5 separate regions of the Homo sapiens genome follow, and regions 1, 3, 4 and 5 are each linked to region 2. The links are contacts of gene promoters, found by promoter capture Hi-C in human tissues and cell types (Jung and others, 2019). All regions are on one chromosome and are shown on one strand. Each heading gives the region's core, a stretch centred on a gene start or on the middle of the fragment in contact. The rest is flanking DNA. Distances are from core to core; before and after follow the strand shown. Region 1 has its middle 480 kb from the start of CDH6. Region 2 holds the start of CDH6 (cadherin 6). Region 3 has its middle 280 kb from the start of CDH6. Region 4 has its middle 400 kb from the start of CDH6. Region 5 has its middle 320 kb from the start of CDH6.

Evidence for each region. Contacts are between HindIII fragments. The study calls those that stand out against the background at their distance.
Region 1: a fragment that was not itself captured here is called in contact with the fragment with the promoter of CDH6 in region 2 in 1 of the 25 tissues and cell types used here (dorsolateral prefrontal cortex).
Region 3: a contact is called between a fragment that was not itself captured here and the fragment with the promoter of CDH6 in region 2, in 1 of the 25 tissues and cell types used here (aorta).
Region 4: a fragment that was not itself captured here is called in contact with the fragment with the promoter of CDH6 in region 2 in 2 of the 25 tissues and cell types used here (hippocampus and pancreas).
Region 5: a contact is called between a fragment that was not itself captured here and the fragment with the promoter of CDH6 in region 2, in 1 of the 25 tissues and cell types used here (H1 embryonic stem cells).

What each region holds. Positions count from the first base shown.
Region 1 is chr5:30,709,631-30,712,418 of GRCh38, forward strand. No RefSeq gene overlaps it. Among named protein-coding and RNA genes, the nearest start is that of CDH6, 480 kb to the right of the region's middle. The HindIII fragment of the contact is 6,839 bases long and covers 1-2,788 here.
Region 2 is chr5:31,192,328-31,195,027 of GRCh38, forward strand. CDH6 (cadherin 6) reads left to right here and starts at 1,359. Exons shown (of 12, transcript NM_004932.4): 1 at 1,359-1,559. The HindIII fragment of the contact is 7,217 bases long and covers 1-2,700 here.
Region 3 is chr5:30,916,922-30,919,621 of GRCh38, forward strand. No RefSeq gene overlaps it. Among named protein-coding and RNA genes, the nearest start is that of CDH6, 280 kb to the right of the region's middle. The HindIII fragment of the contact is 3,846 bases long and covers 1-2,700 here.
Region 4 is chr5:30,791,492-30,794,217 of GRCh38, forward strand. No RefSeq gene overlaps it. Among named protein-coding and RNA genes, the nearest start is that of CDH6, 400 kb to the right of the region's middle. The HindIII fragment of the contact is 8,207 bases long and covers 1-2,726 here.
Region 5 is chr5:30,868,860-30,871,559 of GRCh38, forward strand. No RefSeq gene overlaps it. Among named protein-coding and RNA genes, the nearest start is that of CDH6, 320 kb to the right of the region's middle. The HindIII fragment of the contact is 3,693 bases long and covers 1-2,700 here.

The DNA.
Region 1 (2,788 bases), core at 230-2,729, 480 kb before region 2:
GCATCACACTACCTGACTTCAAGCTATACTTCAAGGCTACAGCAACCAAAACAGCATGATACTGGTACCAAAACGGAGATATAGACCAATGGAATGGAACAGAGCCCTCAGAAATAATGCCACATATGTACAACTATTTGATCTTTGACAAACCTGACAAAAACAAGAAATGGGGAAAGGATTCCCTATTTAATAAATGGTGCTGGGAAAACTGGCTAGCCATATGTAGAAAGCTGAAACTGGATCCCTTCCTTACACCTTATACAAAAATTAATTCGAGATGGATTAAAGACTTAAATGTTAGACCTAAAACCATAAAAACCCTAGAAGAAAACCTGGGCAATACCATTCAGGACACAGGCATGAGCAAGGACTTCATGTCTAAAACACCAAAAGCAATGGCAACAAAAGCCAAAATTGACAAATGAGATCTCATTAAACTAGAGAGCTTCTGCACAGCAAAAGAAACTACCATCAGAGTGAACAGGCAACCTACAGAATGGGAGAACATTTTTGCAATCTACCCATCTGACAAAGGGCTAATATCCAGAATCTACAATGAACTCAAACAAATTTACAAGAAAAAACAAACAACCCCATCAACAAGTGGGCAAAGGATATGAACAGACACTTCTCAAAAGAAGACATTTATGCAGCCAAAAGACACATGAAAAAATGCTCATCATCACTGGCTATCAGAGAAATGCAAATCAAAACCACAATGAGATACCATCTCACACCAGTTAGAATGGTGATCATTAAAAAGTCAGGAAACAACAGGTGCTGGAGAGGATGTGGAGAAATAGGAACACTTTTACACTGTTGGTGGGACTGTAAACTAGTTCAACCATTGTGGAAGTCAGTGTGGCAATTCCTCAGGGATCTAGAACTAGAAATACCATTTGACCCAGCCATCCCATTGCTGGGTATACACCCAAAGGTTTATAAATCATGCTGCTATAAAGACACATGCACACATATGTTTATTGCAGCACTGTTCACAATAGCAAAGATTTGGAACCAACCCAAATGCCCATCAATGATAGACTTGGTAAAGAAAATGTGGCACATATAAACCATGGAATACCATGCAGCCATAAAAAACGATGAGTTCATGTCCTTTGTAGGGACATGGATGAAGCTGGAAACCATCATTCTCAGCAAACTATCGCAAGGACAAAAAACCAAACACCGCATGTTCTCACTCATAGGTGGGAATTGAACAATGAGAACACATGGACACAGGAAGGGGAACATCACACACCGGGGCCTGTTGTGGGGTACGGGGAGGGGGGAGGGATAGCCTTAGAGATATACCTAATGTTAAATGATGAGTTAATGGGTGCAGCAAACCAACGTGGCACATGTATATATATGTAGCAAACCTGCACGTTGTGCACATGTACCCTAAAACTTAAAGTATAATAAAAATAAATAAATAAAAAATAAAAAAAGATTTAATAATTGTCCTGCTGTGTTTTGAACTTATGTGAGACCTGTAACCCCTTTCTTTTGGCTGATTTCTCCCTTTTGAAATGGCAAGGTTTACCCAATGCCTATACCCCCATTGTATCTTGGAAGTAAATAACTTATTTTTTATTTTACAGGCTAATAGATGGAAGAGACTTGCCTTCTCTCAGATGAGCCTTTGGGCGTTGGACTTCTGAGTTAATCCTGGAATGAGTTAAGACTTTGGGGGACTATTAGGAACGCATGATTATATTTTGCAATGTGAGAAGAACAGGAGATTCAGTGGGTGGGCAGAGGCAGAATGATATAGTTTGGATATTTCTCCCTGCCCAAATCTCATGTTGAAATGCCATCTCCAGTGTTGGAGGTGGGGCCTAGTGGGAGGTGTTTGAATCATGGGGGGAAGATCCCTCAAGAATGGCTTGGGCCATCCCCTTGGTGATAGGTAAGCTCTCCTTCTAAGCTCCTGGTTTTTTAAAAGTTTGTGGCACCTCCCCCCGACACACACACACTCTGTGTCTCTCTTGCTCCCGTTCTTGCTATGTGAAACACCTACTCTCCCACTTCACATTTTGCCATAAGTAAATCTCTCTGAAACCTCCCCTGAAGTAGATGCTGGCACTATGCTTCTGGTACAGCCTGCAGAACCATGAGCCAATTAAACATCTTTTCTTATAAATTACTCAGTCTCGTGTATTCCTTTATAGCAATGCAAGAACGGCCTAATACAGGGGGTGATAGATACATTCATTATCTTTATTACAATGATGATTTTATGGGTGTTTACACATGTCAAGACTACAAATTATACACTACAAGTATGTTTAGTTTTTATATGTCATTAATTATATCTATAAAACTGTTAAAAATGTTGCTAATTAGTCATGTATTACGGGAAACTTCAACTAGTTCTCACATCTGCCAAAGTATTTTTTTAACGAATGATTCTTTGTTTCTGTGCTCAAAGTTTATTTACAGTAATAATTTACTGATAATTTATTGATCACAACATAGTTAGCCTGTGTTTTTTTGAATTCATATCAAAACTACAATTTCTTATTATAATCCAAAAATCACAAAGAAAGAGATGATAAACTTTGAGTTTGAGCAAAGTAACTCATTACAGTGTGGTCAAAAGGATTTGATAATTTTTCACATTTGTTAATATCTGCTCCTTAATCTCAATGTCCATGGTCAATCTAGACTGTATAAACTGCTGAGTTTCAAAATGTCTTTAGATACATGTTTCTCCGTCAGTGTCACTAATGCTCTCACCTACTCACTCTAAAATGTATTTGTTCCTTGATTATTCTCTAAC
Region 2 (2,700 bases), core at 109-2,608:
ACAAATTGGTAGCAATTCTTCATTTGGGGAAGGTCTTTTCCAGAAAGAAACTCAAATCTTTCCATCTTCCATGTGCAGAACATCTGTGCTAAAACCATTCCATGCACACTTCTTTGAAGCACTGGCTGCCTAAAGGAATACTTTTGATTTGGGCTTTATTTAAATGCCTGAACTTCTATTGGAGAAACAAAAGGTTTTCTAGTAAGAGCTCAGTTGGGAACAGGACCAACCTCCAGCCAGTTTAACTACTCAGAGGCCAAGCAGCCTGGCATTTCTTAGAGCTCTGTGCAATGGAAATCTCCCTGAGAACTTGCAGCACAGGCGAACAGCTGGTTTGGGAGGCTAGTGACCCTGGGTGCAATCACTGTGGTAATTAGATTTAATTTTCCTAATCCAACAGTGGCTGACTCCATCATGCCTATGTCTCCTATGTAGAAAATCATTACTCTCATTTAATGGTACTTTGACATGTTTCACATTTTTGTGGCTTAGTACCTTAACATTAGATATTACCTCTTTGTAACTATCAATCTAGCCATTCAAACAGCTATGTGTACTAAAGAGTTTAATTTGAAGGTTATCCAACTTCGGCAACTTTCCAGAAGGATCTTCGAACGTTAAGCAGACCTTGAATATCATTGTACACCCCTCTTCTGCAAGTCTTTTGTATGCTTGTATCAATTCATTTAGAACGATGGCATCAGTCATAAGTCATTGGCAAGCCTGAAGGGTTTGGGTTTTCAGTGTTTCTGCAAGCCCAGGGAAGCATGGCTTCATGCTACGACATCCTGGGGTCACTCCAAAAGAGTAACAGAGATCATGGGGCTACGTGAAAGCGTGTCTTCCTGGGAGGAGAGAAGGAAAGACATGTATGAATCTATCCATGTCTGCTTGCATCTGGAGAACGCCTGTTTATGTTGTAAAGAAAAGCCATCGGTATTGTCATCTCAGGAGACCGGCTTGTTTTATGTGTGTGCATGTTATACGTGCTATCACACGAAGCTGGCCAACTGATAGAGTGACGAGGTACTGTGTCCCTGGGAATTGTAATTGCTTGGTCGGTGAAAAAAAAAGAACATCAGACCATTGCTGATAATAGCACAAGGTGCATTTTGATAGTACAAAAGAGGAAACAGACGGAGTCATACAAGTTCTGAGTATATCTTAAACCCCCTCCAACAAAAAAAAGAAAGAAAGAAAGAAAGAAAGAAAGCAAGGGAAAGCCTGGGGCTGAAGGAGTGTTCCAGGGAGCGAATTGCTCAGGACTTCAAACACTGGGAGTCATTCTGTCAAGGGGAGGGGGCGGGCGGGGGCAGGCACTGGGCCTCTTTAACAAAGTCCTCCTCTCTTTGCTCCCTCCCACTTCATTCACTTGCAAATCAGTGTGTGCCCACAAGAGCCAGCTCTCCCGAGCCCGTAACCTTCGCATCCCAAGAGCTGCAGTTTCAGCCGCGACAGCAAGAACGGCAGAGCCGGCGACCGCGGCGGCGGCGGCGGCGGAGGCAGGAGCAGCCTGGGCGGGTCGCAGGGTCTCCGCGGGCGCAGGAAGGCGAGCAGAGGTGGGTTCGGGCTCCGTTGGCTATGCATACATCTCCCTTTTTTTTTTTTTAATTCTGTAGCGTTGATAGAAGCCAATCAGAGAGAGAGCCCTCTCCGCCCGGTGGGTGCCGCGCCGGAGTTGGGAGGGATGCTCTCAGCCTGCGAGCCCGGGTCGGGGCGGGCGCGCGGGTCCGGCTGCGCGGGCGGCGCTGCTGCCGCTGCTCAGGACCGACGCCGCTTCCCGGGGAGCCTGGGCACCGCTCCTCCGCCTCCTGGTAAGACCGATCCGCCGTGGGGCTGGGTGGGGGCACCGGGAAGCGGGCCGCCGCAGAAGAACCCGCTGCCTTTCTCTACGCCGGCAGAGGCTGCCAGGGGAGCTCTGGCATTTGCAAAGTTGGCTGGTCAATTACCAAAGGGCGCTGGTGCGTGCAGGTCCCGCCGAGCCGTTTGGGGCTTGATTTATCTCCACCTGCCCGCATCATAAGGGTCTGCGTGGTGACTGCTTGGGCTGAGTTACATTTCTTAGCTTTTGGGGTAAAGCAGAAAATCAGGTAGTCTGAAAACTCTGGAATGCTCCCAGTAAGGAAAACTTAAACTAAAGAGACGATTTGGCTGGTAGAAGGAGCTAAAGAAAACTGTTAGCTTGCACGTTCCGGGCAACGCCTGCCGGCTCATCTAGGACAGAAATGCTTAGGTTGCAAGGAAAGTCCAACACTGGACTCCGAAAATGGAGCACACTGTCCAGGGAAAAGTCATATGGAAGGCGCAGTTCGCTCGTGCTCCTCCACGGCTGGCCAGGCTCAAATCTGGGGGATAAAGCCTTCCCCGGACTGATTGGAGAGTGGTTGGAGTGCGCTTGGTTTTCGGTGCCAGATGCTGGAAAATTGGAGCCCCCAATGCGTTAATCCCAGAATTTAATAAAAAGGGACGCTGCAATGTTGTGGACTGCAGCAGTTGCAGAGCTGAGATTACTTCTTCCGTAGTTAGATATTCTGTCATGAGTTACCGTAGATCTCGAGATGGGAGATGCTGGAGAGGTCAGCGTGGTGCTAAGAAGTGTCACTGCTGCAATAAAATCCATATTTTATGGGGAGTTAAATGCAGGTCTCTGTCAGTGCAAAGGGCTGGCCACCTGAGTTAACTATGACTCAGAACATTCAA
Region 3 (2,700 bases), core at 89-2,588, 280 kb before region 2:
GCCATTTACCCGGGTAAGCAACTTGTCACCATAAGAAACATTAAGGAAGTATAAGAGGAGATGAAGTCATTAAAAACTGCAATGAGGCAAACTATGGCAGTGATCATCTTTGGATGCCTCAGTGGAGTGAAAGGGGCAAAGAAAAAAAAATGAGATAAACTTGAAGTACTGACAAGAGTGGGTACTGCCAAAAAAAAAAAAATGCAGCTCTGTATAAACTAATAAGGTGTGGCTAGCCTCTTCTTTGCAATGCCCAGGACTTTTTCTCTTGCTTTCTCATGCTTTTTCTCACATATTCCTTGCCTTCTTGCAGGCTGATCTTTTCTTCCCTTGACTATTCTCTGTTGTACATTGTGCATAAAGAAAGGGAAATGATGCTTTGGGAGAATTTCTAGCAAAGTATCTTTACTTTTATCATATCAGCACACAGTACATCCAGTCTCTCTAGCTCTGAGATTGTTCATTTATGATACAACCTTTTGATCTCAGAGTGAGACACAGAAAGCCAATAGAAGGAGCACTCCTACATCTACAGAATAAAGATAAATCTGAATGACTCTGACCCACAGGCCTAGCCACCTGAAAGTGCCACATACAGACAGAAATAAATGTTCTCTAAAGACTTCTTGCTGGCCATTTAAATTTTAATTTTATCCAAAGTCATTCCATGTTCTACATTTTTGTCTGATCACACACAAACAAAATGGCAGTGTTAGGAATGGGGAAGAAATGGAACAAAAGCTTTTTCAAAGCAAAATCACAGCTAAAATTTTAAGGCAAAAGGCATAATTGTAGGTTCAACACTTTTCACTACTTCCATAACTTTTGCATTTACATGAAGTGCTGGAAAAGCAAGGTGTCTTATTTTGGGAAAATCAATTTCAACTTTAGCCTGGCCTCGCTTATTATTTTGCATCTGATTTTTTAAAGAATAATTTAAAAACCTGAAAGCAGACAACATTATTATCATCATTAGAGCCACTGCTTTTTAAAAATAACTTCAGGTTGTGAGATTATGTCCAAGCCTGTCTCCTTTCTGTTCTTCTTTCTTTAGAATGAATTTTCTTGTCTGCATATTTTGTGGTCCAGAATGACTGTGAACAACAGATAATCACTGGAATATACCAAAATTCCCTTTTTGAGTCATTTGTCCTCGTCCTCATCTTGACTTATCCTTCTTGTCTCTAAAGCCCTGATCTTAGAAACAAATACTTCTCTTTGGTTGATATCCTGTTGAGTGCTGTAGTCTTTGTAATACTGAGATAGAGAAAACTGTGTACCCTAGGCTTCCAGAGTTTGGAGCGTGTACTTAGTAAACATGCAGGCCGAGATGCAAAAACAGGTATAGTTTCAATTTCCATACAAATCTTTGACTAGTAAGGGGTTTCTCACATCTCCAGGTTGCATCAAGCTGACTCATGACAGTGGCATTAGAAGCACCCTGAAGAGTCTCCATGAGGCTTTGCTTACTGTATTAGCCAGGGTTCACTAGAGGGACAGAGCTAACAGGATAGATGTGTATATGAAAGCGAGTTTATTAAAGGAGAATTGACTCACATGTTCACAAGTTTAAGTCCCATGATAGGCCGTCTGCAAGTTGAGGAGCAAGGAAGCCGGTGGTGGATCAGTCAGAGTCCCAAAACCTCAAAAGTCGGGAAGCCAACTGTGCACTTACAGTCTGTTTCCAAGGGCCCGAGAGCCCCTGTCAAACCGCTGGTGTCAATCCAAGAGTCCAAAAGCTGAAGAACTTGGAGTCTGATGTTTGAGGGCAGGAGGCATCCAGCATGAGACAAAGATGAAGGCTGGAAGACTCGGCAAATCTGCTCTTCCATCTTCTCTTGCTGCTTTATTCTAGCCACTTTGGCAGCTGACTAGATGGTGCCTACCGAGATTAAGGGTGAGTCTGCCTCTCCCAGTCCACTGACTCAAATGTTAATCTCCTTTGGCAACACCTTCACAGACACACCCAGGAACAATACTTTGCATCTTTCAATCCAATCAAGTTGACACTCAATATTAACCATCACATTTACCAACTGCCATTTACCTGTGTGATGTATTAGACTTCTGTAAGCTGGTAATGTCCTGACCACCACCTGCACTGTCAATTAAAATAAGAAGACTCATGTTTTTACTATACTATTTATTTTCCATTCTTTTCTTCTCTGAATCACACATTGAGCAAAACTATATAAAGCACCAATGATGTGTCACATATATGCTTATATTCTTGAAAAATAAATATTAATGTTCTACACTTTCAAGAAGCTCATAGTCTAGTGGGGAAAAAAATGCATAACCTTATCTATCCAGTTCAGAGAAAAATGTCATGCAAGCACCTTTAGAAACTTAGCACAGTATCTTCTGATAAATATGGATAGAGATTATTTTTAATTGGGAAAAATAAAAATGAAATCAATAGTCATTACCCAGTACTTATACATAAACAAGTTCATGTGAGTGGTAATTGCATGACAAGTAAATGCTTTCATTTATTGAAACTCTACTCTTGAACCTGGCATTAAGTTTCTTTAAAATCTAGCTTTAGTCATCACAGAGGAAGAAGGAAACATAAATAAGTAAATATTTAATTTTTAAAAAATCTAGCTTTAGACTATTCGGGAACATCACCTATTTTCCCTAACACAGATGCACCTGCAGCTTTAAACTCCTTTCCTGGAACTTCTCTAAGTAAACCAG
Region 4 (2,726 bases), core at 149-2,648, 400 kb before region 2:
AGAAATTTGGCAAATCTTGAGTTTCTTATCTACACATCTTAAAAACACCCCTTAATTTCAGGAAAATGTATCAATTATAATTCAGAGTTACATATTTATAATTATTTAGAAATGTTTTAAGATGTTTCCATTTTAGAAGAACAGATTTACAGTAATCTATCATCTATTCATCATTCCCAATATATAAAAATTAAACAGAAATTAATAAAAATTAAACAGAAATTAGAGATCTAATAATCAGCAAACTGGGAATATTCTGTTCTTAAAAGGTTCTATAATATTTTTAAAAGATTAATCAAAATGGCATTAGTCAAAGTAACTACAATGTTTTCATATAAAAGAATATAATAGAAAGGAAATGAAAACATCCAAATTAGAGATTAATATTTCTTTCTTTTAAGTGGAAGAAATTGTAAATGGAAAGATGTTGCACATAAGATGCTTAGTTTAATGAATCAGAACAGATGAGGCTAATGGAGGAGGAGAAAGAGGAAGAAGTAACGAATAAACAAGTGATAAATACCTTGGTTTTTTCATGTTATTTTTGTTGTTCTTTACTCAGAATGATTTTTAAATTAACAAATACAACACACATATTCACATAAACAGAAAACTAAGCTTCCTCTATAATACTGACATGATGAAAGGGGGCACAATAGCCTTCAATCCATAATGAGAACCCATAATAAATGAGAACATACATTATAATCATACATTTTCTTAAATACATCTATGTGCATACACATAGCCCATGCTAATTTTTAAAACATGCCCTCCCAAATTTTTATATCCAGATACATATATATTCTATGCTGAGACACACATACAAAAAGTGACAAATATATGTGTAATTCTAGGTTAATCAATAACACCCATTCACACATACATATTACAGTTAGTTTGTCATTTGTGTCAGTTATAATTAGAGAAACACAATACGTGCTCATATTTATGTGCATATGTGCCATCTATTTCTACCCCCACATGCATAAACACTTGCAGAAGATCAAAGTGATGGTTTAGTTGCACAGTGCATGAGTTCGCGGCTGTAAGAAAGAGTAACTTGTTTAATACATACACTGGAGTATCTCTTATAATTAAAGTAAGGCTAGGCAACCACACTTCAGTGAAATACGAACCTGACCAGGCATGGGTAAGTTGGCATTGCAACTTGTAGATTTTTTCCTGTTGAACTCTACTATTGATGTGACGTAACCACCAAAACCATATTTCTCAGTTGCAATTTTCAAGTGACAAGATTTGAATAGCTCAGCTTAAGTCAGGTGCCTATTTTCATGTACACGTTCATTCAAAAGTTGTTGAGCCTCTACTATACACAATGTAGTGTGGACCAGGTTCTCCAATTACCAACCCCAAGAGAGAATTCCCACTGCATGGAGAATAGCAAAGATTATCACTATACCAACCACCAGAAATAGGACTCCAAACACTTTTGCCCACTGCACCTTGGGCTATAGTTTTATCAATTGCCTGAGTCCGATGAGACAGAACACTCACACACAACAAGTTACATAAAATAGATTTATTACTTACAGATAGGCAGCAAGCAGCAAAAGAAGTCTAGGATCCATTGTGATCCAGTCCCTCAAGGCTCAAGAAAGCTGCCTGGGGCAGATGGAGGAAGGCTGAACTTTGGGTGTTCCACTTGTATTGTGGCTGAGGGACCTCAAAAGTTGTTCCAACCCAAGTTATATACCTCAGGGCAATATGGCTCACTGGGCAAAGATTTGAAGGACATCCTGCTTCCAGGAGAAGGAGGAACAAAGCCCAATTTGTCTCAGACAGTTCCTCCCTAGCTCAAGATGTTACATTTTCTGGTTGGGACAAGAACAAGACCCAGACAGTTTCAGGCAGTTTTTGCCTAGATCTCAGGATGAATGTAGTCCCAGCACATTCTACAGTTTTTCCAAGAACTACATGCAGGAAAGTGGGAGCGAATTGGGTCAGTCCAAAGCCATCCAGAGATCTGTCCTGCAGATTAAGTTTTCGATATACTGAGGTTCAACACAGCAGACACGTCATGACTATGAACGTGGGTAAGCAGAACTGCACAGCAGAAACATGGTTGTCTAGAGCCTATACTTGGGGAGCAGAAAAGAGAGGATCTGCTGATTGGAGAGCAGAAATAAGAGGCACTGCTGATAACCAAATAGTCTTTACTAAAAGACTGTACCTGGTAGTTAGCTATGGTTAGTTCGCTGGACAAAGGAAAATAATTTGAAAAGACAAGTGAATGTATTGCCTGCATAACTATCCTAAGAAACCACTTCCTGGTTAGATATTTAAACTCAATGTCTTTATATTCTTTCATTCATCTGTTACTTGCTATTGGTAAGTAAATACAAGGTCAGTGAATTCAAATACATCTTCCTGAACAATTTAAAGTTGGAAAGAAAGATGTCTCTATAACAGAATTTCCTTTTTTAGCCTAGTACAATGAGTTTACAAAATGTCAGTATCCTATTTCATGTTCTTGTCTGTTGTGAAATTTCACTAATAAAATATACCTCTGAAAAAGTAACTATAAATTGTCTTTAATACTGTGTAATATAAACTTACTTCTCTGTTCACTCATATTGGTAGTTTCAAATCAAGGAAAACTTGAATTATTACATGTACTGATAAAACCCAATTTACTAATTTTTTAAACCTGTTGTGCAAGGCTTTATTGGGAAAATAGCCTGCCACATAACTTTTACCTTATT
Region 5 (2,700 bases), core at 187-2,686, 320 kb before region 2:
ACATGATGTATGAAAATACAGAAAGACTTTTTAGCCACTACCTTTGGGAAACTTTGATGCTAGTTGGAAAGATAAAATGTGCAGCTTTGAAAATAAAAATAAAAAGCTTGGAAGGGGGAAGATATCTAGAGTAAGAGAAATAGTATGGTTAAAAAACAAAACATTATCTTTTTATTAGAAACATATAAATTATGGAAAAGACTGCTATGAACTTATTTTCTTGTTGAAGTTTTCACAGAAGTCATCATTATGATTTGGACCTTCAAGAAAATAGAATTTCAATTAGGACACCCAAAAGAAATACTCCCACAGGAAGAAGAGCAAAAATTACTGGAGGAAGGAATGAGCATGGATTGTGAAAGTCCTTTGTAAATCCTAAAAACGTATGTAAAGGTGAAGGTTGATAATTACTGAACTATGCTGGATGGTGACAAAGGAGAAGAACTGAGATGCTGAGAAGAGCATCTGAATTGAACAGCAGCAGATGGATTTGAATAGGTAAGGCAGAACCACTCACGTGAGGAAAGACAGATAAATTCAATCCGAAATCTTCATAAAGCATTGTGAAACTTTTGTAGATTTTTAACTAGGAAGGAAAACCGTAAGAGCAGTGCTTTATTCATCTATCAGCTGTGTGCAAGATGGCTTGCGGCAAGAATGCCTTGGAGACAAGGAAATGAATTATGAAGCTATTGAGGTAATCTTTGAAATCATAAGAATTTGGAATGTTCTAGGTCAGATTAACATTTATTGAGCACCAAGTGTGGTCTAGGCACTGCACGGGGCTTTAGGGGTAGAAGGATGCAAGGACTCTGCTGCTTAGGATCTTGCAGAATGTTGAACCTCATTCTTCTGCAAGCTGGCAGTGACAATGTTGTCTATAAGCAGCTTTGGAGGTAGGAGAAGAGACACTTAGCCAAGCTTAAGTGGGAAAAGGAAGGTCACTTGAGTCAGTTATGCTTTGAACTGAGTCTTGAAGGTTGAGTAAAAATTACTAATGTCAGGAAAGAGGGGTCAATCTGAAGCAGGAGGCCTTTGTGATACAAAACAGAGGACAAGGGCAGTCTCCTGGGTCATAAGACAGGGCTTGATATTGATTTTTCAGAAAAAGAATACCATTCTAATTATAAGAGCAGTATTGTCAGATTTGTGTTTTAGAAGTATCAGTCAGGCATAAATTAGGACAAGATTAAACTGGAAAAAAGGAACCTAGTTAGGATAGTGTTAGAAGAATTCCAATGAGAAAGGAGCATTAGAGCTGTGCAGCAGTGGAAGTGATGGAAAAATAAGAAGAGACTCTAGAAATATTTGAGAGTGAAAATAGAAGAGACTGATTGCGTTGTAGGGCTGATTGGATAGAAAAAGTAAGAAACAAAACATCTCAGATGATTGCTGACATTCTGTCTGTCACCCAGCTCAATGGGTGGTGTGTCAGTAATGGTCATTTGGAATTGGAGAGGATGATTCAAAGGAGGGCAGGACAATGGATTCAGTTATGAACATGGTTAATCTGAGGTGCCTGTGAAAATCAAATGGGTAGGTGGAGCAGATTGCATAAATCCAAACATCCTTGGGGCAGTCCAGGTAAAATGTATACATTTGGCAATCATTAGCATTTAGGTAATTATAAAATGAAGGTAAGATGAGATTTCTAAGGGAAAGAATGTAGCCTGAGGAGGGCAGTGGGCAGAAGGTAAATTTCTGGGAATAACAGCAGCTAAGGGATTAGAGGAAGAAAGGGAGGTGAGGAAGGAGGCTGAGAAAAAACTGGCAAAGTTGTAGGAAGAAAACTGGTAGCAATCGAAAAGATAAAAGCCGAAGAAGTAGGAGACTAGCAAAGAGAAGCCTGTGCTGCACATAATTGACAGAAAACAGAGACTGATGTGATTCAGAGATGGTACTAAAAAATTGAGTTATAATTCCTCACAAGGACTTACTCCAGGGAACTGGGACAAATGTTCTAACACTGACGAAAACACTTGAGGTAGATGAGCCTAAGAGATACCTTATGGATGTGAGATTTTTTTTTGCTTCTCCTCATTTGCTGGCCTGTCAATCGATGTGAGTCTACAAAATACTGAATAGTTTGTGACTCAATCGCATTGAAACTCAACTCCATCCCTGTGTTCAAGGACTATCAGGCTCAATCAAGGAACTCTTAACAGTTGGTAGACTTCACAAATCAGAAGGAACAAGACAATTTCCAGGAAGGACTGTGATTCTTATAGTTGTTTCCTTTCCTCACTTTATAATGGTATCATTAGTTAGACTTCCAGATACTACATAAAGTGAAACCATTCACTCAGGCTGACATTTATACAGGCTAATCAAATGCTTGTGAGGTAGAGCAAATAACTAACCATAGTACCTGAAAGAGGTTGAAAAAAAATCATAAAACACACTCACAGTGTATTCTGAAAAGCTGGCAAGTAAGGTTTCTCTCAGCAAATTTGAGACAAATTTGGAGAAAGGTAATTATGCAGGCAATTCAATACCCACTGAAGTGGGCGTGCTGAAAACCCTCCCCCGCTTCTCCAGCACTGTGTAAGACACCCTAAAGCAAAAGCAAGCTTAAATTGGTGACAGTTTCAACATTGTCTCCTCCTCTTCAGCTGCCATATGAAAGCCACTCAGCCACACTTCTCACAATTTGCAAAATTGTGCAGATGAGGACACCTTTGAAACCGTCATATTGAAGGG